Linked DNA regions of Homo sapiens: region 2 is linked to region 1. Evidence: promoter capture Hi-C in 16 types of primary human blood cells and fetal thymus (Javierre and others, 2016). All regions are on one chromosome and are shown on one strand. The core of a region is centred on a gene start or on the middle of the fragment in contact, and the rest is flanking DNA. Distances in the headings are between cores, read along the strand shown.

Region 1 (6,886 bases), core at 3,056-5,555:
CTTTCCTTATCTTAAAATGATATAATCTTTTTGAAAAAAAACCCACAAACCTGCGTGTATATCATTTCACTTCAATGCATAAATGTGACCTATACCTGCATAAAGACTATTTTCAGTTTTTTCCTTTTTGCATGGCTCCCACCCCTTTTCTCTGCCCTTGTCTCCACCAGGCCCCTAGTAATCTGTACTGCAACCTCCTTGATAATCCTTCATATATACCCACAAACATATATACCCAAATATATATAAATAGGTGTTGCTTTTTATATTACTAAAATAGAAACATCTTTTCCATGCTTTTCTGTACCTTGCTTTTCTCACTCAAAAAAACCTAAAGGAATATTCCCATGTCACAAAATTTGACTCTAATTTATTCCTTTGAATGGTTACATATGACTTCACAGTATGGATAAGTCATAACATACTCAGTCATTCTCCATTGACAGGCATATTTTGTCCTAGCTTCCTGCTGCTATAAATGATACAATTAACAACCTTGGGGGCAGGGAGTGGTGGCTCATGCCTGTAATCCCGGCAATTTGGGAGGCCGAGGCGGGTGGATCATGAGACCAGCCTGGCTAAGATGGTGAAACCCCGTCTCTACTAAAAATACAAATACAAAAATTAACTGGGCATGGTGGTGGGCACCTGTAATCCCAGCTACTCGGGAGGCTGAGGCAGAGAATTGCTTGAACCCGGGAGGCGGAGGTTGCACTGAGCCGAGATCTTGCCACTGCACTCTAGCCTGGGCCACAGAGCAAGACTCCATCTCAGAAAAATAAAAAAAAAAAAATCCTTGCATATTATACATGTGCTTTATTTCTAGTGGATAGATTCTTACTCCTAGGATAGAGAAGTGTATGTGTTTGCTACAATAACAATTAATATTAGTAATTCCTGCAGGGTTTTATGTATTTTCATTTTTGATAACTCCTGCTAGGTTTCTTTCCAAGTAAGACAGTATTTATTTGAATGGTAATTTTTATGGGTATTTACTTGCCTTTCACAATTTCTCATTATAAAAATTTATATTGATAAGTGAGGTGTAATTAGTTATATACATTTATATTATTGAATTTTAAATGTTCTTCATTTTACAAGTACCAATTTTTCCAAGTACCCTAGTAGTCTACCACCTGAGTTTCATTAAAATTGCACAAAACAGAAAAATACATATTAGTTCTGAGATGCTATAGGGGTATAAGCAAGAAAACAAAACACAAACAGGCTGCCTTCTATGAAACTATCTTCCAAATATTTTAGATCAGAAGATGGACAGGTAGATGGATAGACAGAGATATGAAAAAAAACCTCCAGTATTTGTTTTGACTTGCCAGCCACCAAATCTGGTAGGGTCAGTTTTTCTGTAATGTTAAATATGCAGGACTGGTCAAGGTCAAAGAACATTTTCTGGGAACAATAGCCATTCTCTTCATTGTTTTTTTAATGACATGGAGAAGGAAAAAAAAAAAAGGAGAGAGAGAGAGATGTGACCTTACTAGGTCCACTTCAACAAATCCTTGTTTGATTTTAACATCTCTAAGTGTCCAGCAAGGCATCAAAGGCACACAGGCAGTTTACCTTACAGCCAGTTCCAAAGTGCCATTTACAATTCAGGAGAAATGACAGGCTTCAAAAGGGGCAGTTTAAGGAAGACAAGAGCAGTAGAGAGGGGGATAGAAGAAGTGATGGAGAAGGAGGAGAGAAAGGATAAAGGATTAGGTCTGTGAGCTAACAGAGGAAAACAGCTTAATTATGGAAGAAAAGACACATGCATAGGATAGGTCGAACAGGCAGAGTTGCTGTGGAAGCACATTCCAGGAAAATCTTAAGAGATTACTTTAATAATAAACCATGCATTCTTCAGCAAGCCATCACGGGATTAACTACCCCTTTCCTAGGCTGGGAGCACAGTCATTTGTTTTATTTTATTTTTTCCTTCTCTCTCACAGGCAGGTTTTCTGCAACGGACAATTGCCATTCAAAGACTATTGTTTTTCAAACATTGAACTGACTTTTCCTCCCCTTAATTTTCTAAACATAAATTTCAGTGGTGATAAGAAAAGACCATTATTTAGGCAGGGTAAATATCTGGGTGGGCTTTGGCGTGATTCTCCAGAGGGAAAGATGTTCATTTTAGACTTGTTGAAAAGTGAACAACTTAGATGAGACAGAGACAATGTTTCACGAGGGATAAAAAGAGTTAAATTTCTTTTCTTTTTTTTTCTTAATGTGAGCAGGACATTGAATTACTGCCAGAAGCAATATCGGTGCCCTAGAGATATAAAAATACAGTTCAAACCAGAATTCTCCACTGTCGACTCTTCAGATTTCTGTGCAAAATAAGAGGTGTCTATTTTAAGTTGTAAGTGTGAGCCCACTGCTCTTAAATGAACTGTTTTCATCAAAGTCTTCTCTTGAAACTACAACTCATAGCAGATGAAATCATTTTCTTCCTCTGGCTTCTTAGACAAATCCCTTCCATTTGGTGGGGTAGAGCAAACATAAGTTAGTATTTCTTGGTAAGAGTCTTTCAAAAAAAAAAAAAATAGAATTGAGTGAGCACTTCTTAGTCTAGAAAATATTACATATTGAGGTTAAAAGAGACACCCATGTCTTTCTAATTATCAAAGTCTCTATTTGCCTGAAGTCAGCAGCCCTTTTTCCAGCTACCTAGCCAATAGAAATGAAACTGGACTTCTAGATTTTAGAAACAAAGCCTTGTGTTCTAAAATGTACTAGAATTACATTTCTCTGCATAAATGTTATAAATAGAATACTATCCTAGGACTAAAATTTGTATACTTCCTGTCATTCACACAAAGTCATTTTTTAAAATAGCAAATTACCTCTGAGGAATATTGAAAACTGCCAGCATGGCCCTCCCTGCCTCCACACCCCTAGGTGTGTCAGGGGATGAGAAATAGTAGAGGCTGGGGAAGTAGAATTCTGGGCCAGCTGTGCTGCTCTGCACCCCTCAGTCTCCCCGAACAACGGTTGTTTCAAGCCTGACCTACTTGAGAGCAGACATTGCCACTCACATTGAGCTACCCCAAATTACACAGTGGCTTTGCAGTCGAGGCTAGGCACGGACCACAAAATATATCCTTGATGTCCCACGAGCCCTATTTGAACCCTCAGTTTCCAGAGGTAAAATGCAAATCCACTGTGTTGCTTACTCGATAAAATCAATAACCCCCTCCCATCCGAGATACAATTTAGCATTTTCACATTTACTACGTGCTGCCTCTGACTTTAAACAATTAAATTTTTTTCTTAAAAAAAGGGAAAAGAGACACGTCTTTCACAAGAGTAATTTCAGAATTCTCCAAAAAGCAACAGAGCTTCTGTGGATGTTTTACAATAATTCTTGATTTTAAAATATGGAGAAAATGAATTCTCAGCTTGTTAACACTCATTAGGATTTGCTGCGGAGTACCTTCTACCGCTCAGCACTCTACGTTAACATTTTTAAATATTTTATTTCTTGCAGTTCATGTTTTTCCTAGAGTTATAGGAAGTGCTATGGAAATTCATGCAGATAAAGTCATGTTATGTGTCTACATATAGGTGTATATACACTGTAAGGGAAGCCTGTATAGAATCTCTGATTGTATCAGAATTATAACTTATTTGATAGGCTACATAGACGTGAACATGTTTTGCTCATATCGATTTCAGAGAGAATATTATTTTTATATCCATATATATGATTATATTTCATAGGTAAATACAGTATGTTTCACATATGCACACATAGATTTCCCACTAACTTAAGCGCATTTGCATCTGCAATGAGGGAGACACTAATTTCTTCTAAGGGGAGCAAATCCAATCGCGCGATCAACTTTAGAAACTGCAGATCTGCGCAGGAACCGTTGTCCCTTGTCAGAAAAGTCAGGAGTAAAGGCAGTCCTTTGTTCAAAGGGCCCCAACGGGTTGGTTAGGATGACTCCGTGTGCCACATCACTCGCAGTGGCAATCCAGGGAACGGATCTGTGAAACGAAGCTCGGTGGATCCCACCCCTTTCCTCCAGAGCTTCCCTTTCCTGTCCTTATTTGCACCCGCCCCCCGCCCGCGTCGGTCTGGGGCTTTTGACTTCTCCCCGAACACATTTCCCCTCCCGTCGCTGGGTCCCTGCGATCGCCCCCAGCTGGTGGGGCTCGCGGAGCTCAGGGGAGCGGGGTCCTCTGCGCCGCTGCAGCGCGAGTTAATAAACAGTTAAGTTTGGAAGACTCTGCAGACACGTTGAGGGGGAGTTACCAAGCCCAGGCAGCAAAAACATCCTGGCACATTCCTGGGGAGTCCTCAGCTGCCAGCATCTGATTAGAACCATATCTCTCGCCGGGAGTGGCCGCGCGGCTCCGAAGCTCCCGGCCGGCGGCTATTTAAGCGAGGCCCGCCGCATCCGCTGCGCTGTAGCCTGGAGGCTCCGGGCGCGGGGAAGTCATGCTCGCTTCACGGAGGCAATAGCTAGCCGGTGAGTAGCTTCGAAACCCTTCTTCCCTCTGGCTCCATTTTTTTTTTAAAGATCTCCTTCTCTCCTTTGCTCCCCCTCTCTCACCCCCCCGCCCCCCGCTACCCTTCTTTGAGTACAGACCTTGGGCTGTGGGGAATCTTAGAAATGAGACCCTGTGCTTGGGGAAACCAGCAGTTTTGTGGCCTGACATCTGAGGAATGCTTCCGCGGAATGTATTTACCTTTCGAATCCGACTCCAGATGCCCAGCTTGTGACATTTAACAAACGCCTCCTTTTGTGTCGTGTGTGTGTGTGTGTGTGTGTGTGTGTGTGTGTGTGTGTGTGTGTGTGTGTAAAAGGTCTGCGGGCAGCCCTCCTAGGACACTGAGGTGGCTGCTGACCGCCTAATTAACTCCTCGAAGGGTGTTTATTTTTGCTGTGTGACAAAGGCTGGGGACCTGGCTTGTGCCCATAAGGAGCTTTTTCCTGGTGACTGACAACATATGGCATTAAAATGTGAACTTTTGTCTTACACCGGCATTCCTAAGGAAGTATCTACCCAAGGGACTTAAGAAACTTGTTTTATATCCCCCGGCGCAGGGAGCATGGTTTATATGGTGCTTGCCTGCCTGTTGTAAGCTGGTTAAAAAGATTAAGTAAGAATTCTAAAAAAGGGGGGAAAAATGAATGGGTTAAAACCGTGGAGCCTCAGTCAACATAGCGGTTTTCATAGCATAGAGCTGACTCTGTTATTTGTTTCTGCTGTCTTTCCCTCTTGACTTAATTCTGAGCCTGGAATTCTGGTCCGCAGACAGTTTCAGCAGGGAGCTGAGTCCAAAGGGAAATTCAACTGGATTAAAAACACTTAAGGAATCTGGGTGTTATCTCCACCCCAACCACCCCCCACCTTTTCCCCTTTCTTTTTAGTTTTTGTTTGGAAGGAAGAGAGCCGCTCTGTAAACCGAGAAGAGCAGAAACAAGCTTCCAGACACATGGAAAGACTTAAAAATTATGGAGGGGCGACTTCACGAATAGTAAATGTTGCTATTGCTCTATAAAGTGACTTCATGAAAAAATTTCTGGCCTTAGTCAGGCAAAGCAGGGGCATGGGGGAGAAGGAGGTAAGATATAACTAATGCAAACAGAAGTAATGGGAGTGGAAAGCAGGCATCTACAAAAAATGCCTTTGAGATGTCTGATAAGCCTCTTGGAATGGCTTTGATGAGATGTATACTTGATTGTCCTTACAGTCTTGAGGTTGGCTTCTCACACAAAAGCACCTACTGGCTGTTGGGGAGGAGGGAGCTTGCAGCTACCAAATGGCTTGTCACCATGCTTCTTACCCCAGCAGCCAGACTTTGGGAGGCTACTTTTCTCTGAGCCAGGTGCCCCGCCCACTCCAGGTTCTGTGTCTCCCCTCTTGGAAGGGAGATGGCCCTCAGTGACACTGTAAGAAAGTTTATTGCCTTGAGAATTCGGGAGTATTTGAGTACAATGGGAAAGTCTTCTAGAGAAAGCATGAAGAAGACCTAGTGGTCTTTGCCAATGTGGATTTCTGGGACAGACCACTTCTTCCAAATCCTTAGTCAGTTTCCTCCTAAGGCCAACTAAATTCTTTTTCCTGTTGTTGGTGAATAACTTCCCCCTTCTTTTCCCACTCCCAGCTGGAAGGATCCCTTCTCATCCAAATGACTGACCTAGAAACCAGTCATTTTTCAGCTATGCCCTCCTATGCTTTAATGTATAACCAGAATAAGTAGATGGTAGAGGAATGTCTTCCAACTTTGAGCCCATACACGTATGTATTTGCCATTCTGGGGATCTTTGATCTTGATGGTTGATCTTTACCTGAGGATGTAAGTGAGGGAAGAAAGCACTTGTTACAAACCTTGTCTAATTTGTGAAGGGCAAACTCCAGAGTTTGTGTTTCTGCTAAAGACTTTTATAGTTTCAGATTAAACTGGAAGTCCAAATTCCTGTGCATTAGGCCTGTTTGTTGTCTTTCTCCAAAGGTTGAATGGATTTCACTGGCCTTGTTTGGGTTGAAGGGTACGGCTTTTAAGGCACTTGTTGGCATGAAGGTAGTACAGGGACCTCTGGCAGCTGCTGACCAGCTGTTTGGGGATGATATTTACTGGCCTGCTCAACCAGGCCTCGATTATCTGAAGGTTAAGGGAGCAGGAAGATATCTTCCTTGCTGAGTGCTCCTGGCCAAGCAGGAGGCTTTGCTGTGACATAGGCTCTTATGCTGCTTCATTTCTAACTCTACCCTCATATGTCCATAAACCTAAGTTTGCTACCACTGATATTTCATCTGGATAATTTTGAAGGCTCTGCGTGTTTCTCTTCCTCATTCTTTTGACCTGAGGATTTAATTATTGCTCTTCTTAAAGACAAAGCCAAGATGCTGAAATGCTTGGGAAAGC
Region 2 (6,886 bases), core at 2,863-5,362, 3.6 Mb before region 1:
GGTGCGGAGGTTGCAGTGAGCCAAGATCGCGCCACTGCACTCCAGGCTGGGCGACACGGCGAGACTCTGTCTCAAAACAAAACAAAAGGAAAAGAAGAGAAAAGAAAAAGAAACGCAGGCACCCTGAAATCGAAACTTGTTAGGACCAACAAGCCAACGACAGACGAATCTGCGGGGTCCTGCGACAGACACGCCAGCCCCGCCGCCACAGCACAGGGTTCTGGAGGTCGAGCTGTTCTGCGGGTTCTGCGGCGGCGCTGGGAAGAGACGGCGCCCGGGCAGCTCCCCTGTCACCGGCTTGGAGGAGCGGCGGGCTCCCCTAGCCCAGCGCCGCCGCCGCCGCCCGGGAACGCCAGGCTCACCCCAGCTGGGGAAGCTCCGAATCCCTCAGATCGGCGACCTGAGTGCTGTCGCCCCGAGAAAATGGAGGCATCGAGCAACGAGCTGTGCTGAGACCGAGAGACCTCAGTTCTGCGAAATGTCGGTGCCTGGAGCTTGCGAATGACTGCGGCCGGCGGGTTGTCAAGGACAACATTCCTTATGGCGCAACCAACAGCGCTGTCACCAAGAAACTGGACTCTGAGAAAAAAGAGGGTTTCGGCCACCGAGAAACTCCGTGCCACATGTGCCGTGACAGCAAAACCGCCCGCTCCGCGCCGCTGGTGAAAGAGCTAACGAACGCCAGGTGCTGCGACAGTGACACCGGGACTAGAAGGCCTCGGATGGAGAATGGGACGCCCAGAGCAAGCAGGAAAACGTTTTGTTTGGCTCAACTAGCGCTGTCGCAACCGGAAAACTGTCAGGCCAGTGCTGCTGCGGATGTGAGAAACCGGTGATCCGAAGGCGGAGTGGCGCTGGGCGCTGGACTCGCTGGTGTGAAAATCTGGCTGCTCTAGGACCCGGCAAGCGCGGGCACCAGGCGAACGCCAGCGACTTTGCCAGACAAATGCATGTCTTTTTTGGTCGCCATTCAAAGATGCAGCCGGCAGTCAGCCCCGGCTCTGAGAAACAAGTGGAGGTGTCAGCCATAAACCCTCCGTTCAGGGAAAAGAGAGTCGCTGCGACGGATCGACTGGCCGTTGGGTGGAACTTTCTTTGGTGGCCTAGTGACTAGAAAATAAAAACGAAAACGAAATAAAAAACTGCTACTGACATTACTCCCACGCTCCCTCCTCAAGTCAGTGGCTTCAGGCTTAAGAAAACCTGTATTTTTCTTGGCTGATCCGTGATCCCTAATTACTGAGGGCCCCGCGACCCACCAAGTGCGATTCGCAGAGGGAAAGGAGCTGGAATAAGGATCCAGAATGGGACGGATTTGGCTCCTCCAGGAAGAAAGCAAAACAAATGCAGGTCGCGAACACTTTACATTGCAGGAAGCTGCTCTTCCAGTGGCCGCGGCTGGGTCCTTCCACACCACCTCTCTGTCCTAGGCCTTCGTCCCGGTTCAGCCCTCACGGATTCTAGGCTAGCGGTCAACAACCGCATCCCTCCGGAACCTGGAAACTCTAGGTCCGAGATCTCGGTGAAGAATGAAAGGCACAGCGCCGCTCAACCCAGGCTTCAGGCCTGCCCCGCTGGTCCCGTCCCTTCCCTGTGGGATGGAACTCTGTGGGAATCGCTCCTTATTCTGATGGTTCACTCATTCAGATGTCCTTGATATTTGGGGATATTTCTAAAACAGCTGGGGAGAAAAATGGACTGCGAGGCTCCGGTGTTGGACGTGAAATTGGCAGTGAGACATCCGCCTCTAAGCCCAGGGAAAAGCTTAAATTGTGGTTCTCTGTCTCTAGCACCGTGATCTTTGAAATGCGTTATTGATTTTCTTCTTTCTTCTGGGAAATGCAATGCAGGTGAACTTGTAAGTGTTGAATCCTCCCTCTCCTCACTGTTCAATCAGACTGAGGCCTACTTCCTTTCTGATAAGAAATATGGAACTGCCATTGCTCAGTAGGAAAATGTCCTTTCTACAAGCATTCATATTTCAATAAAAATCTGCACTTTGTGAGTTGAGCCCCCTCAAAGAGACCTACAGACCCTGCCATGAGCATCTCCATCCACACTCATCATTTCCCATTTTCACCACTTCTGCTCCTGTGCAAACCAGTACTATCCTTTTCTGGGGGATCCTAGGCAGAAGCGATGGCAGGACAAAGGCAGAGAAGGCACTGCCAGGTAAGGAAATCTATTTTGCCCTTGCAATTCTGTCTCCCAAGGGATTTGCCTCAATATCTCCCTCCCACCATACCCCTTCTTCAGCTAGCCAAAACCTTCCCTGCTATTTGAGGCTCCTCCAATTGCCTCCTGGTCCTGTGGTTGCAAGAATAAAGGAAAAACTACACTGTTCTCACCCACATAGTTACAGACACTATGAAATAGAAGAGCAGTCTGGAGTCATTGCAAAGCAAAATACCTACCATCAGTTCTCTCTTCCTATTTCTTTTTTTTTTCTTTTGAGACAGAGTCTTGCTCTGTCACCAGGCTCGAGTGCAGTGGCGCGATCTCGGCTCAGTGCAACCTCTGCCTCCCGTGTTCAAGGATTCTCCTGCCTCAGCCTCCTGAGTAGCTGGGGCTACAGGAGCGTGCCACAACGCCCAGCTGATTTTTGTATTTTTAGTAGAGACGGGGTTTCACCATGTTGACCAGGATGGTCCCGATCTCTTTACCTCGTGATCTGCTCGCCTTGGCCTCCCAAAGTGCTGGGATTACAGGTGTGAGCCACCGTGCCCGGCCCTCTGTTCCCATTTCTACTCCAGCTTCCCATCTTAGTAAAAAAAATCTGTGAGCAACACCCTGTAGCGGGAAAAGGTAACCTGTCTTGATGGGAGTCCATAGGAGGCTGCAGGCTGCTTCCCTACAGAGACTGATATCAAGGTAGCTGCAGAATTTAGATTCTAATCCTAGTGTGATTGGAGGTGGGGTAGATTCCAGGGAGGTCAGAAAGTGATCAAATACAAAATTGTGCTCCTTTGGAGGAGGTCATAGGAACTTTGAATTATGACAATGGCTAGTAATTGGGTAGAATTGGAGCAGGCTGGTGATGGCAGTTTTGTGTGGGTGGTAGGACCTAGGAATCAAACTTGAGGGCAAATTGTGGAGCACATATGACAAACGATGTAGAGCCTTTCCTATTTCCCTTTCCAGTGTGTTATCCAAAACAATAAATAATAAAGAATTAAGAAAGACTAATATTTTTATCAATCTCATTAAGAAAAATTGCATCAAATCAAGATAACTATAATGATAAATATTGTTAGAATATTATTAACCAAATGAAAGTGACACAAAACAAAAACGGGGTGGATGGTGGGAGAGATCAAATAAAAGCAGTCTCCAACACTCAGGCAATTTGCACAGGTGAATCTTCTGGCCAGTTGTTATGTTGCAGGAAGCTGTGCAACTAATGAATGAGGAGGCAGGAATCCATATTAATACTTTCCTGATACAGAGAAATTCTTGGATTTAACAATCTGCTTCTTTGTCAGATACTGACTTTTGATTATAGGCTCAGAAAAGATGATAACAGTTATAATCACTTAGTCTAGTAGAGTAGGTAAAAGAAAGACTGTGTAGGAGGCTAGACAGAAAGCAAAAGGTAAAAGTGCCCCGGGGTAAGTCATCTAGAGTTGAAAGTGAAGAACTGTGCTTGGTACCAATGGAGGACTCCACCAGGTCAGGTTAACCTACAAAAAATGAACCATTGGCTGTTGATCTCTGGGACTGAAGATTCACCCTATCCCATTCCTGTCTAGCCTCAGCTTTACATTCACTGTGTAGCTCAAAGGTTTTTGTTTGTTTTTTTTTTTTTTTTTGTAAAACACTCTCCACAAATGTTTGATAGATTATAAAACCCTGTCCTAAGACTTTGTCATCCACAGACAATTGTCTTATTTTCAGTCCTCTTCAAAAGGTCGTTTATAATTAGCTATTGGATTTTGATAGGTGTTTTTGAATGCAGGTTTCTAATTACTCTGGAGATTGTGACATTAGAATAAAGAAAAATGTGACATGAGTCTGCTTGGGAACATTTTTTTTTTTTTAAAGTGGAATAGAGGAGTAAACTTTTAGGACTCTCATGGAGAGCTGAAGTATTCGTGAATATCAAACAGGAGTTAATTGCATGGACCGAACAAATAGAAGACTGAAATGATATTGTTGACTTTTTTGCTAAAAAATTGCTGATCCTTAAAAAATTGCTGATCCTTTTTTATGTTTTCCTGAGTCAAGGAAACTTTACTTTTGAGCTATTGACAGCTTTTAACAATTCAGTAAAGTATACTCCAGTGAACAAAATTTGGAGCATATTTCTTTCTCTTTACCTGATTTCTCCAGAATTTGGAAACTATTTGTGAATATTCTTAACTTATGTCAATGTAGTTATTTGCATAAGTGCAATAAGAATGTTTTCTTTTGCAACAGAACACCATTGGAGAAACTGGTTATTTTACCAAGGCTTTGACTGAAATGGTGTGCTTTTCTTTAAGGAGTCAAACTTGAGTTACAGAGCCAATAAAAGCTCCTTGGGAAAACAGGCCCCAAACCTTGTCTACACAGACCCTATACAGGGTTTCTGATTTGTGGTAAGTAAAGAATGTCACTTTTTGACAAGCCCAGGAGCCCCAAGTGATCTTGGGACCTCTAGAGGAGGGGAATTTACCCAACTCATATGTATTCGATGGTACAAAGCCATGGCCGGGCTCGGCTTTTAAAAAGTCTTATCTGAGACTTTTTCTATGGAATAGAGTTCCATCAAAGTCATTTAAAAAGGCTTGTGTGAAAAATAATTGTTCTTGCGGCACTTTATACAAATAATCAGACCAAGTATAATAAAGCGAATAGGTCCTACCATGATTTCTCTTTAGTAAAAATGGGAAACTGGAGAGAGAAAAATTATGTTTCAACAACTATAGTATACATGCTGTTAGATTCTAGTCTTGCCTAATGTTATTTAATTTTTATTATTTTCTACAGTTTGGACTGAATTCCAAAATTTTTTTCTGGCTAAAAGTCTCCAAAATGATGTTTTCAATTATTTTCTTCTTTCTTTTCCTTTCCCTTACCCATTTTTTCCTAATTTTAAATCACTGAAAACTAAACTGTGCTTTCTTAAAGCCCTGCAAAATGAAGCTAGACAACTTAAACTTCAGAAGTAAATAAGAACAACCTATGTACATACATAAACCACTCTCATACCTGCCTGCTGATGTATGGACTTCAAAGTATTATGGCCCATATTGATTTTCCAGAATTATCTTTTTTGGTTTGTTTGTCGCTGTTTTTCTCCTTTCCTACCCATATTTTCTCTTCATAGGATGTGAGACTTCACAACCTGCTAAAAATGAGCCCTCCTAATAATGTGTGTCCTACCCAACTGGGAATAAACCATCGTAGCCATGAGAGATCAGATGGCTCTTCTCCTCCAAATATCATGTTAGAGGAGACTCACTTTCTTGTAAAATGCTTTATCTGAAAGAATTTAAAAAGAAACGGGAGGAAATGTGAAAGGAAAATAAATCCAGGGACCCCCAAATCACTAAGCCAAAAGGAAAAGTTAAGCTGGGAGCTTTAGGGCAAACCTGCCTTCCATTCTATTCCTAAAGAATATAGCTGCTAAGTTGAAAAAGTTACATACCGGCCAGGCAAAGTGGCTCACGCCTATAATCCCAGCACTTTGGGAGGCTGATGTGGGCGGATCACCTGAGGTCGGGAGTTTGAGACCAGCCTGACCAACATAGAGAAACCCCGTCTCTACCAAAAATACAAAATTAGCCGGGTGTGATGGCACATGCCTGTAATCCCCGCTACTCGGGAGGCTGAGGCAGGAGAATTGCTTGAATTTGGGAGGTGGAGGTTGTGGTGAGCTGAGGTCCTGCCATTGCACACCAGTCTGGGCAACAGGAGCAAAACTTGCTCTCAAAGGAAAAAAAAAAGCCACATACCTCCCTCACCCTCACAAGGAATTTCTTTGTGGACAAAGCACAGACAGAACTCGAAGTCATCCCTCTGCTCACTGAGATAAATGCATAACTGATTGCCTCCTTTAGAAAGGCTAATCAGAAACTCAAAAGAATGCATCTGTTTGTTTTTTACCAATCTATGACCTGGGAGCCCCCTCTCCACTTTGAGTTTTTCCGCCTTTCCGGACGGAGCCAATGTACATCTTATGTATATTGATTGATGTCTCATATCTCCCCAAAGTATATAAAACCAAGTTGTGCCATGACCACCTTGGTCATATGTGGTCAGGACCTCCCTGAGGCTGTGTTATGGGTGCGTGCCCTTAACTTTGGCAAAATAAATTTCCTAAATTGACTGAGACCTGTCTCAGATATTTGATGTTCACACTATAATGGATAACTGAGACTGATTAAATTATAAAGAAAGGATTTTTATTTTGGCTCACAGTTTTGTGCTGTACAAGCATGACACTAGCGTTTTCTGTTGAGGGTGTCAGGAAGCTTCCACTTATTGTGGAAGACAAAGGAAAAACATGTGTATCACATGGTGAAAGAAGGAGCAAGAGAGAGAGGGAGAGGTACCGGGCCTCCTTTTAAACAACTTGATCTCCTGTAAACTCATTATGGCGGGGAGGGCACCAAGCCGTTCATGAGGGATCTGCCCCCATGACCCAAACACCTCCTACCAGACCCCATCTGTAGATTGAGGATTACATTTCAACATGATATTTGGAGGAGAAACGTCATCTAAACTTTATCAGAGAGAAATGAATGTAAACTCCGCAGGTAGCATGTATTAGGCTATTATTGCATGCTATAAAGAAATACCTGAGACTGGGCATTTTGTAAAAAACAAAACAAAACAAAAGAAGGTTTAATTGACTTATGGTTCTGTAGGCTGTACAAGGAAGCATCGTGGCGTCTGCTTCTGG

What was found. The method cuts DNA at HindIII sites, captures the fragments that hold promoters and counts their contacts. A CHiCAGO score of 5 or more calls a contact.
Region 2: a fragment that was not itself captured here is called in contact with the fragment with the promoter of DAB2 in region 1 in 1 of 17 cell types (M0 macrophages); the score reaches 6.7 in M0 macrophages.

The regions. Positions count from the first base shown.
Region 1 is chr5:39,422,399-39,429,284 of GRCh38, reverse strand. DAB2 (DAB adaptor protein 2) reads left to right here and starts at 4,305. Exons shown (of 15, transcript NM_001343.4): 1 at 4,305-4,481. The HindIII fragment of the contact is 7,828 bases long and covers 1-5,443 here.
Region 2 is chr5:42,986,125-42,993,010 of GRCh38, reverse strand. FLJ32255 (a long non-coding RNA gene) reads left to right here. Exons shown (of 2, transcript NR_104643.1): 1 at 1-2,172. It overlaps LOC105374746 (a long non-coding RNA gene), which reads right to left and starts at 736. Exons shown (of 3, transcript XR_007058755.1): 1 at 1-736. RefSeq lists enhancers at 74-203, 504-713, 1,054-1,203. The HindIII fragment of the contact is 4,691 bases long and covers 1,767-6,457 here.